3 separate regions of the Homo sapiens genome follow, and all the other regions are linked to region 1. The links are contacts of gene promoters, found by promoter capture Hi-C in blood cells and fetal thymus (Javierre and others, 2016). All regions are on one chromosome and are shown on one strand. The core of a region is centred on a gene start or on the middle of the fragment in contact, and the rest is flanking DNA. Distances in the headings are between cores, read along the strand shown. Region 1 holds the start of USP28 (ubiquitin specific peptidase 28). Region 2 has its middle 13 kb from the start of C11orf71. Region 3 overlaps REXO2 (RNA exonuclease 2).

Evidence for each region. The method cuts DNA at HindIII sites, captures the fragments that hold promoters and counts their contacts. A CHiCAGO score of 5 or more calls a contact.
Region 2: a fragment that was not itself captured here is called in contact with the fragment with the promoter of USP28 in region 1 in 4 of 17 cell types (total CD8 T cells, naive CD8 T cells, non-activated CD4 T cells and 1 more); the score reaches 6.2 in total CD8 T cells.
Region 3: a fragment that was not itself captured here is called in contact with the fragment with the promoter of USP28 in region 1 in 8 of 17 cell types (total CD8 T cells, activated CD4 T cells, total B cells and 5 more); the score reaches 8.0 in total CD8 T cells.

What each region holds. Positions count from the first base shown.
Region 1 is chr11:113,873,869-113,878,011 of GRCh38, forward strand. It overlaps USP28 (ubiquitin specific peptidase 28), which reads right to left and starts at 1,704. Exons shown (of 26, transcript NM_001346252.4): 1 at 1,577-1,704. The coding sequence starts at 1,633. RefSeq lists enhancers at 1-92, 1,679-1,973, 1,963-2,212, 2,263-2,924 and silencers at 1,403-1,762, 1,783-1,942. The HindIII fragment of the contact is 13,869 bases long and covers 1-4,143 here.
Region 2 is chr11:114,385,072-114,389,176 of GRCh38, forward strand. No RefSeq gene overlaps it. Among named protein-coding and RNA genes, the nearest start is that of C11orf71, 13 kb to the right of the region's middle. The HindIII fragment of the contact is 1,112 bases long and covers 2,111-3,222 here.
Region 3 is chr11:114,442,175-114,445,972 of GRCh38, forward strand. It overlaps REXO2 (RNA exonuclease 2), which reads left to right. Exons shown (of 7, transcript NM_015523.4): 3 at 1,682-1,759; 4 at 2,367-2,478. Among named protein-coding and RNA genes, the nearest start is that of REXO2, 4.6 kb to the left of the region's middle. The HindIII fragment of the contact is 192 bases long and covers 1,614-1,805 here.

The DNA.
Region 1 (4,143 bases), core at 454-2,953:
GCCCTGGTTCACGCCTGTAATCCCAGCACTTTGGGAGGCCGAGGCGGGCGGATCATGAGGTCAAGAGACCGAGACCATCCTGGCCAACACAGTGAAATCCCATCTCTACTAAAAATACAAAAATTAGCTGGGCGTGGTGGCACGCGCCTGTAGTCCCAGCTACTCGGGAGGCTGAGGCAGGAGAATCGCTTGAACCCGGGAGACGGAAGTTGCAGTGAGCCGAGATCGCGCCACTGCACCCCAGCCTGGGCGACAAAGTGAGACTCCGTCTGGAAAAAAAAAAAAAAAAAAAGTGCGTCCAGACTGGGCGCGGTGGCTCACGCCTGTAATCCCAGCACTCTGGAAGGCCGAGGCGGGCGAATCACCTTAAGTCGGGAGTTTGAGACCAGCCTGACCAATATGGTGAAACCCCGACTCTACTAAAAATACAAAAATTAGCCGGGCCGGTGGCAAGCACCTGTAATACCAGCTACTCAGGAGGGTGAGGCGGAGGATGCAGTGAGCCGACATCGCGCCACAGCACTCCAGCCTAGGCAACAGAGGGAGACTCTGTCGAAAAAAAAAAAAAAAAAAAAAAAAAAGTGTCTCCATGCTAAATACTACTGGCCTTCCAGACAAAAGAGTAAAAAGGTATAAAAGGATTCTCACCTGAGGGTATCTGTCTGCCAGCTTTGTACGACAAATATAGTTTCTCATCTCCAAACTCGTATTTGAACAACTGGCACAGATTTCCCGTTTTCTCTTGAAAAAGTGCAGTACTTGAGGGGTGAGGAGGTGGTGTTAAGTTATAACATTCCGAAGTAACACTAGAAGACATGCTCAAATTGCCCTCTTCCCAAGTTTCTTCATACAGACATTAGCTTTTCTCTCAAACCAGGGTTCTTTCACTCTCACCAGATTCTTAGATCAGAAGTCCTTATATTGATTTCAATCTTCTTAGACATTGGGAACAGGAGATCATCATCAGTAGACTTTCTATTCATCACGCAGCTCCTCCCCCTCCTTAAAAATCTAGAGCGATGAAGGCAATAATTGGGGAGGCTGCGCTGTTTTGTTTTTAAAGCCGGGTTGGGAGGGAGGGAAGTGGTGGTAACTGGGACCCCTGGTCTTATAGAAGACGGTGATTAATTCCGGACTTTAAGTGAGATAACTTCGGTCTGCTTTAACCTTTTAAAAACGCCGCCATAAAACTGATTTAAAAGTCAAAGCAAAACAAAACCAACCAACGCTGCCGCTTTCGGAAGTTTCTCACCCCGGACGGGGCCCAGGAGGGCTCACCTTACTGATCCCTGCGGCGGAGAACCCCACGTCCAGCCCTTTATATTTGGTTTTCCAAAATCTGGAAATCCCCCTACAACTTCAGCTCGCCCACGGACGCGAAGATGCAGTCCTCAATCTCCGCGGCCCGAGCCCCGCAGAGCCCTTGGCCTTCTCACCCACGCTGGCGGGCGCACCCCCTGTCCCGCCCGGCCGGGGCGCCCTCCGCAGCCCGCAACCCGCAGCCCTGCAGGCCCCGCACGCTCCCCTCAGGGCCTGGAGCCCGCCCCCAGCTCCCGCTCGCCGCCGCGGAGCCCACCGAGCCGTGGCCGTCTGCCGCGCCGGCCGCGTCGTCCTGCTGCAGCTCCGCAGTCATGGCCGAGGCGCCCAGCCGCGGGTCACCGGTCTCCCGCCGCAGCCGCCGCCGGCCCAGCCTCTCAGGACTAGGCCCCGCCCCCGCCCTCCACCCCGCTCCGTCCCGCCCCCGCCCGCAGCGCGCGCCGGAGGCTTGGCCCACATGCCCCGCCCCCGGCATGCGCGCGCACGCAAGGCGCGCGGCCCGGGGCCGAACAGTTCTGCGTGCTCCCGCGCACGCCCGGCTGACCAGACGTCGGTCACGTGATCCCGGCCCCGCCTGTCGCTGTTGGTCAGCTTCACAGCCGGTGGAGGCTGCGGGCCGCGCTGCCAGTGTCCGGGAACTGGGTTTGCGAATCCTGGGAGCCGCGTTCCTGAGTCTTCTCCGCTCTCTGCCCTCAAAACCTCATTTGTAGGACTGACCTCCGGCTCCACCCTCCCCACGGGCGAGTTAAAACTGTTCCCCCGCCGTGGGAAACTGCCGAATGACCGTGGAATAAAGGATTTCCCATCAGGCTTTGTAGCCATTTCCAACTCCAATGACATGAAGAAGTGTTCACCATCTTTAAGGAGAGAAGGAGGATGAATGCAGTCGCTTGTCTAAAGCTAACCAAACGGACCAAAGCCTCCGTTCATGGGTGTCCCGCTTGGTGCCCTTAACCCTGATGCTCTTAACCTGGGCATGATAAGGAAAATTGCAGTTTTTCCATTTTCGATTTTCAGAAGTTCAAACTAAAATTTTGTGTTACTTTGTTACGTTTGAGCCAGATATTTACGATTTCATGTTAAAAGACCAGGTGCTCCTATTGAATTGTTTTTTGTTTGGTTGGTTTCGGTTTGTTTTTTTTTTTTTCTTTTTTTTTGAGACGGAGTCTCACTCTGTCCCCTCAAGCTGGAGTGCAGCCGCACGGTCTCGGCTCACTGCAACTTCCGCCTCCTGGGTTCAAGCGATTCTCCTGAGTAGCTGGGATTACAGGCACGCTGTACCACACCCAGGGTTTCACCATGTTGCCCAGGCTGGCCTCGAATTCCTGACCTCAGGTGATCCGCCCGTCTCGGCCTTCCATAATGCTGGGATTATAGGCGTGAGCCACCGCGCCAGGCCTGAATTGTATTTTCAACAACTGTGTGGGAATTGTGATTACTGAACCATGTTTCACATTTAAGATACAAATGTGTTATGATGGCAAACCCACTTGACAGGCTGCTGGGTGTCCCAAATCTGCGTAGAGGCTGAGTGTGGAAGCGCGTCTTTTAAGAGTAGCACCTACACCCTTGCCCTGGTCTGGTCTGACTCTCAAGCTACACTTTTAAGTGTGAATTTAACATGGACGGTGGCCTTTCCTATACTCCTGGCATTGTTGTCGCTGGGATTGTTATGTTTCACCTGCAGGCCTCCCTAGTCTGCATGCGGGCGCAGTTTTTGACAAAAGGAAACAGGTACAGGTCAGGTGCAGCTCCCAGGAGAGGCCAGATTACTCTCTGAGGCCTGAACTAGGACTCCTGCAACTTCCACCACCTGGAGATACAGGGATCCGCTTCCCCTGGCAGATTAACTGGCAGATTGGCATGGCTGCGGTGATACTAACTTGGAATCTTCCACATTCAACAGGCTGACTGTGTTTGTGTCTGCGAGTAGTAGGACATTTTATGTATGTGGCTCTGCCATTTTTCCTTTCCTCATGAGTGACTGTGTTTATGGCCTCAACCTGGGTGTCACTGTAGAACAGGTTGATTTCAGGTTGATGCTGGTTTTCTTTTTTTTTTTTTTTTTTTTTGAGACAGGGTCTCACTCTGTCACCCAGACTGAAATACAGTAGTGAGATCATGGCTCACTGCAGCCTTGAATTCCTGGGCTCAAGCAGTCCAACTGCCTCAGCCTCTGAAGCAGCAGGGACTTCATGCATGTGCCATGCCCAACTAATTTTTGTGTCTTTTTTATGGAGATGGGATCTCACTGTGTTGCCCAGGATGGTCTCAAACTTCTGGTCTCAAGCAATCCTCCTGCCTTGGCCTCCCAAAATTTGGGGATTACAGACATGAGTCACCACGCCCAGCCCACATTGATTTCTGAGTCTAGCTTATTTACAGCATTGCCTATTTCTACACTGCTAGAATGCTTTATTTACCATGTCTCTGGAGCAACCCTTATTTGTCTTTACACATTCATTTTAGGAAATTGCATGTTTATTGTGTGTAAGTGCTGTCAAAACCTATAATCCTTTGTATTAGTCTGTTCTCACACTGCCATAAAGAATTACCTGAGCCTGGGTAAGTTATGAAGAAAAGAGGTTTGACTCAGGGGCATAACAGGAAGCAAGACTGGGAGGCCTCAGGAAACGTACAATCGTGGTGGAAGGCAAAGGGGAAGCAGGCATGTCTCACCATGGCAGAGTAGGAGAGATAGAACAAAAGAAGTGTCCCCCCCGACCCCCCGCACACACACACACACAAAGATCTCATAAGAACTCACTATCATGAGAAATGCATGGGGGAAATCCACCCCATAATCTAATCATGTCCCACCAGGTC
Region 2 (4,105 bases), core at 1,417-3,916, 510 kb after region 1:
TTTGTTTCACAGCACCAGATAACTAATTCATTAGTACCAGGTTAGGGTTTTTGAATAAGGAGTGATAAGTTTGGCTTGGGCATGTTGAGTTTGAGATGCCATCTAAATGGAGACAGTAAGTAAACAGTTATGCATACAAATTATTATACACAATCTGAAGCTCAGGGAGATCTGGATTAGAGATTTGATCTGGGAGTCCTCAGCATATGGATGACATTTGAAATAAGAATGAATATGAAGAAACAGAAGAAAAGAGAGCATGGAAGGCTTCTGGGAGGAGGTAATAGCTGATCTAAATTTTTATGTATGATTAGGGGTTAGCCTGGAAAAGGAGCTGAAGATATAAACAGGAGAAATCCTAGGAAGTTAGGATATAAATAAACTACTTGTTTTGATTTGATTTGAGGCTATGTGCATTTCTAAGAATCCCCTAGCTAAATGATAAAGTTCTCAGTCCATCATGTACCTCCTCCAAAGGCTATCCTTGATATTGTGTTAAAAGGATAAATGAAATTACTACATAAAAATAAGCATAAATATTTGTGCTTAATAAAGAATATATATGCAGCAAAAAATTTATTTTTGCAGATAGAAAAATTAGAATTAGCAATAACAAAGTAATTGGTAACAATGTTCTATACCTCCTCAAGCCCTCTTTCATAAGCCAAGTGGTTGGAGAAATAGGTATTTTCACTCAGCTGCCTCTTTCATTTCTCTTTATGTGTCCTGGTTGCTACATAGAACCTATATTATAAATAAAACTGTAATATTTATATATTGAATGATGTATTAAAAAGTGGCATCGAGAATACCTGGAAAGATTTCAGAGATGAGTTAGATTCTAAGAGTCAAATAAGAACTACAGAGCTAGCAATCAGGAAAAAACGATAGATATTTAAAGTTACTCTGCCATTTGATTAGCCCAAATGGCAAGTGTCTATGTTCACAATTCCTGCGTTCAATGTTCAATAGAAAAAAAGGAATGTGTTTTCTTCTCTGTCACAGTCAGGTGAGAAAGGATTAACTCAGCTACCTGACTTTTGAAATTTAATGGATGTATTTATGGAGGGATATTAGAGGTGACTGATCTTGATTCAAAAATGTTAAATTTCCTAAACCTGGACTATGTTTTCAAAAATTCAAGATGCATTTAACAAAGCAAGGAAAAATAAATTCAGGCTGCTAGCTTGGCAGCTGGTCTGGATACAGTATTTTGCTCTGTTTACTCTGTCAGGAAGCCAGTTCCATTTGATTAAATTCTGAAATTAGAATGCATGCACTCTGGAAGATACTAAGCAGCTTCATGCTTTTACCCGTATGGAAAACGTGATTAAGGAAATGAACTCAATGGCTGTAGCATCAGAAGAGATCAATGCAACAGCTGTATTCAACTGGGCTCAATGGGCTAGACCTTTACTTTATTAAAATGGATGGCTTTAGCATAGAAACTGTGTCCACATCACAAAACTGCCATATTGCTCTGAACTCAGGCCTAGAAAGGAGCCAAGTGGAACTGCCATCAAATATTATGGCAGCAGTGGAAATGAAGATCTGCTCTCACACCACAAAGCTAAAATTTAGCCAAAATGAGAGATAATTAAAGAATTTATATGCAGTATTTCCACACCAACATATTAGATTGTTTCCAAAACTGCTGGAATGTCATCATTTGGCAAGTTTGCCAGAATTCCCCCACAAAAATCTTGAAATTTCCTGTGGCGTGGCAACATCTTTTGCTTTGCCTGAAATGAAGTAGCCTATAAATATTAATTTATATGTAAAATATTGTCAGAGGCCAGCTACACCCAGATAACCCAGCAACAAAGACCTCACTGTGTCCATTTACCCAGTTAACAGCAAGAAAGTTGGGATTTTATTGGAAAATACTTACATTGTTGACCTATGATTGCCAAGTCTTCACTTTGGCCATATAGGCTTGTTAATAAGTTGAAAAATGAAATGGAATTGAGGTATTATTGTATCTGTGAAGTGCAGAGGATGTAAAGGAAGTATGACCTAAGAGATGTTGAACTGGAGGATGGTCGAGAAAGGACTTTCTAGAAACAGAAGTGCATTAATATAGACACTGTGCTCGAGGAGCTGATCCTCAAGCTTCAGATGTTAAGGAGCTCTTTGTAAGGGCCTCCAAATATGATGAGGTTCTTTGGAACTGTCTCATACTAACCAAACTGACAAGAAGTTGGTACATAAAGCAGAATGCCAATAACCATGTGCTATGGTTTGAATGTCCCCTCCAAAACTGAAGTTGAAATTTAATTGCAAATGTGATAATATTAGGAAGTAGGACCTTTAAGAAGTGATTAGGTCATAAGGGCTCTGTAGGAGTTTGGCACGTTTTTCTTTGTCTCAGCCCTTCCTTGCTCTTCTGCCATGGGATAACACATTGCACAGCATGAAGGCCTTCACCAGATGTTGGCATCATGCTCTTGGATTTCCCAGCCTCCATAACTGTTAACCAAATAAATGTATATTCTTTACAAATTACTCAGTCTGTGGCATTCTGTTATAGCAGCAGAAAATGGACTAAGACACCTTGGGGCTTGGAATGCTCAGATGAACTGAGTACACTCTCTCCCTGAAGACATGCTAGATCGATGTTTGCTTTTACAGCTTGGAGCAAGGGCAAAACAACAACAACAACAACAACAACAACAACCGATGGGTTTCACTTGGCAGTTTTATCTGGCCAGGCATGAGATGTTAGTGTTCTCACATTGGGGCACACACTTCCCTACAGGAGAAACCCTGGCAAATACTTGCTTATAAGATTGTCTCTTTATAAATACCATGTAGACTACCCTTTTTGCAATAAAATATTTTTGTTTATTTTCCAATTTTATTGAAATATATAATTTATATACAGAGCCAGGTGTGGTGGCTCACACCTGTAACCCCAGCTACTCAGGAGGTTGAGGTGGAAGGATCACTTGAGCCCGGGAGTTTGAGGTTACAATGAGCTATGATCACACCACTGCACTACAGCCTGGGCAATAGAGCGAGACCACATCTCTAAGTAAATAAGTAAATAATTTATATACAATAAATCCATCCATTCAAAATGTACGGCTTGATAAGTTTTGACTGTTATATATACCCATGTAATAATCATTACAATCAAACATAGAATATTTTCATCACCTTCCAAACAATTTCTGTGTCCTCTCTTCCCAATCAATTATCATCCTCAAGCAAGCCCCAATAAGCTTTTACCAATATACATTAGATTTATCTTTTCTAGAGTTTCATCTACGTAGAATCATATGTATATAGTCTTTTGTGTCTGGCTGCTTTCACTCAGCATGCTCTTGAGATTTATTGATGTTGTGTGTATATCAGTAAATAATTCCTTTTTATTGCTGAGTAGTACTTCATGGCATAAATATACTACAACTGTTTACCCACAATAGCCTTAGACAGTACTTTCAGAGTAAGTTTATAAGGTGCCCTCCTATTAGAGCCAATTATGAAATGGAACTTAATATAAGATGCAGTTAATTTTTGTTTTTTTTTTTATAGCCAGGGTCTCACTCTGTTGCCCAGGCTAGAGTGCAGGGGTGGGATCATAGCTCACTGTAACCTTGAACTCCTAGGCTCAAGCAAACCTCCTGCCTCAGCCTCCTGAGTAGCTGGGACTACAGGTACACACCACCACATACTAATTTTTTATTTTTTGTAGATACAGGATCTCACTAGGTTGCCTAGGCTGGTCTCAAAGTCCTGGCCTCAAGCGATCCTCCTGCTTCAGCCTCCCAAACCCCTGAGATTATGAGCGTGAGCCTGTGCCTGGCTAGGGTCTATTTTTAGTAGCCACATATAAAGAGGATTTAGTGACATCATCCTAAGACCTCATATATGATTTTACACATGTATATTTTGCACAATGATCAGAATGATGACCTCCCAAATCATATTATATACAGGCTCACACACATAACTTAGTTTTACAAATATATTTTAAAATGATTTAAAACAAGCATTGAAAAAAGGGCTTCCCAGAATTAAACAACGAAAAAACAAAAACATGATCTGCACATTTTAAATAAGGTTTTATATCTAGGTATTTTATAGATGTAAATAAACACAC
Region 3 (3,798 bases), core at 460-2,959, 570 kb after region 1:
GCTTAGGGGCTATCAGTTCTGCAGTATGTTTTATTCTTTTATAAGAGTCTGAGAAAAATGTTTTATGCTGGTAGAAGAGCAGGCATCCTACTCTGAAAATTTTTCTGTAGGTGTGGTCCCTTGGCTTGCTAAATAGGGATCTAAAATAGTTTGTAGTAGTTTGATTTTTCCATCATTGTTAGTATTTTTTTTAATAGTATGAGTATTTTTTTTCATTTTCATAGGTTTGGGTTTTCTTTTTCCTTCGTGACTATCATAAAACATCTGTTATCCAAGCAAAATTTTTTGTTTCTTCGCAGAGATTACCAACACCAGTTTTCTTGTTTGGCTAAATCTCCTTTTTAGTAGTAGGATGTCAGGCGTATTTTAATTAAATTCTAGCCATTTCTTTCAGTGATTGTGAACTGTTTTTACCACCTTAGTAGTAATAATACCTTGGATTTATGGAATACTTTTCTATCAGAGAGTTCAAAGAGCTCATATCTATAATTTCTTTTATCCTGTTAACATTTCTATGAGGGAAGGGGTACAGTTTATTATTATCACTATCTTACAGAGGGAGAAGCTGAGGTGACTTGCTTTAATGCCGTAGCTACTGTTAACTGCCAGGACTTATCTGAGAGACTCATACTTGGATGTTCTATGAAATGGAGCTGAGAATTTGAGGGCTACTTTGTGTTTTGGATATCAACAATTACCTCTTTAATTTTTTTTTAAATATAAAAATACTGTTAAAACAGTGTAACTATCCAAAGTATGTGTGTAGTGAACTATTGGATTTTTGTCCTGTTCTATTGCTCCTTCTTACTCCAAGTTTATGTATTGTCTTGATATTTTGTATGTTTATATAAATGCGTGTTTTTTTTAAAACAAGTGTAAATGAAATCATACCTATACATACATGGTTTTGCAATTGTTTTTTTCACCTGCAATATAGATACTTTTTTTTTTTAAGAGATAGGGTCTCACCCTGTCACCCAGGTTGGAGTGCAGTGGCATGTAGCTCACTGTAACCTCGAACTCCTGGGTTCAAGTGATCTTCCTGCCTCAGCCTCCTGAGAAGCTAGGACTGTAGGGGTGTGCCACCAGGCCCACCTAATTTTTTTTTTTTTTTTTTTAATTTTGTAGAAATGAGGTCTTGCTATGTTGCCTGGACTGGTCTTGAACTACTGGCCTCAAGTGATCCTCCCACCTCGGCCTCCCAGAGTGCTGGGATTACCATGCTTGGCCTAGACACTTTTCAAAATGAACTCATAATCAAGGGTTGACAGACTTTTCTGGAAAGAGCAAGTTATTAAATTGTTTAGGCTTTGAGTGCAGTCATATGTTCTTGTCATATGTTCTTTTTTTTTTTTAAACAATCTTTTACAAATGTAAAAATCATTCTTAGCTTTCTAGCTATTAATAAATAGCTGAAGTGTGGGGCCATAGTTTGCTGACCCTTGATAGATATCTGTGTCATCTATTTGTAGGATTAGAGTTTTCAGTGGTGTGTGTATGTTCGTATGTTCTATTTTGCCTTAATGAACAGTGCTGGAATGAAGGGGGAACACTTAAAGTATCCTTATCTCTTACTTTCTCTGATATGTATATTTAGTCCTTAAAACAGCTTAAGCTTTCCCTCTGAAAGTAAGGTTATTCCTGTTGTTTCTTGGTGACTGATGGCGTTTCCCATCCACAGGGTCCTAACCTGATTATAAAACAACCAGATGAGTTGCTGGACAGCATGTCAGATTGGTGTAAGGAGCATCACGGGAAGGTAACATTACCAAATAACAGGATTGCTGCTTTGGGGATCAGTAGCAAGCTTTTTGCTCCCACACCTGAATCCGATACCATTGTTGGATGGTATTTTAAAAAGGCTTAGAGAAGATTGCATGGCAAGCCTGGGAAACTGCTTGCTTGTTTACTTTTCATCTTTGGGACCTCTCGAGATCATCTTCTCCTGAATGTCCTCTTTTTTTTCTCTCCTACATTCAGTCTGTCGCGAACGCATTGTGGATTGTCAAGTATTACTCAAGTCAGTCTTTTGGATAAGGTTAGACATCAACTTTCAGAGAAGGGGGATTGCTGCTCTCCTGTTAATAGTTGTTTCTTCCCAGAGGTTAATATCCTTGGACTTTGAACACCGTCTTTTTTGACTGTGGACATGCTATTAACAGTCAGGATCATAACTAAGTTGGCTTGGATTCTTGAAGAAAAAAAAATGGTGCAAAGATGGCAGTTGCAATTTGAACTTGAGCTCTAAAAATGGTCTATTTGTGGTTATATTTGCCCATTTTAAAAGTGAAATTTCATTTCTGGATGCCTTTGAAAACTGACTTTACATGTGTTTTTGGTGGGGGGCTGGGGATTCTCTCTTGCAGTCTGGCCTTACCAAGGCAGTGAAGGAGAGTACAATTACATTGCAGCAGGCAGAGTATGAATTTCTGTCCTTTGTACGACAGCAGACTCCTCCAGGGCTCTGTCCACTTGCAGGTAAAATCCAATCCTGTGTATATCTTATAGTCTTCCATATGTAGTGGTTCAAGAGACTGCAGTTCCAGAAAGACTAGCCGAGCCCATCCATGTCTTCCACTTAACCCTGCTTTGGGTTACACATCTTAACTTTTCTGTTCAAGTTTCTCTGTGTAGTTTATAGCATGAGTATTGGGAAAATGCCCTGAAACCTGACATGAGATCTGGGAAACACAAACTTACTCAATAAGAATTTCTCCCATATTTTTATGATGGAAAAATTTCACATGCACAGAGGAGTGGATTTAGTAATTGTTAACCTTGTGTCGTATTTGTTTTACCTATTTTTTGTTGGACATTTTAAAGGAAATTGCAGGCATCAGGACACTTCATTCCTAAATACTTCATCAAACATCTCCTAAGATAAAGACATTTTCTTATGTAATACAATGTCATTGCATTGAAGATAATTAAACATTATTCAGTATCATATGATATCTAGTCCACATTAGATGTTCCCCAAAATATTTGTTTTTGAACCAGGATTCAGTCAAGGCTCGTGCATTTCATTTAGTTATATTTCTTTAGTCTCTTAATGTAAAACTTTCCACCTATTATTTTTCCCCTGTGTCATTGACTTTCTAAAGAGACCAGGCCTGTTCTACCAGGATTTTTAAAAGGGTGACATTGCCAGAGGGAAGTTAATGTTTCTCTGAAGGTATATGTACGTTTGTATATGTAAGTCGATGTGGTAGCTAATACTGTTCTTAAACATTTATAAAAATAAGTTTTGGCATTAAGTACTAGAGCATATATTGTGTAAATGTTTCCGCCAGCCAATGTGGCTGATATCTGTTTTAAAGGTCTCATTTAAAATTTAGTGTTTTTAGTATAAGTTACTTTTTGGGGACATAAATATGCATATGATTTGTTTAAAAATTTGGATTGTAAATAAAGGTTTATCTACCTATGTGATTCAGTTAAATTTTTAGTGTTAGTGGTGTGAATTTTGTGACACTGGGAGAAAGTTTGCATATCAGGTATGACCTTAGAAAGTAACAAATAGATTTGTGCATTACATCAAGCATGTGGAATGATAGATTTGTCCTTCTGTTCATGAGAGGTCATTTACAAATTTATAAGGAGCTAAACTGACTAAGTACTTGGAAATCTGTACTTGTAAGCTAATCACATTTACCCAAACCTGATTTAGAAATATAGAGGTGCTTTTAGGAATTGTTTGAATTTTAAAAAATCATCTCCATTTCAAATACAACTTATGAATTTTGATATCCTGTTGTATAATACTAGAAATATAGAGATGCAGTATGCTTCGTGTCT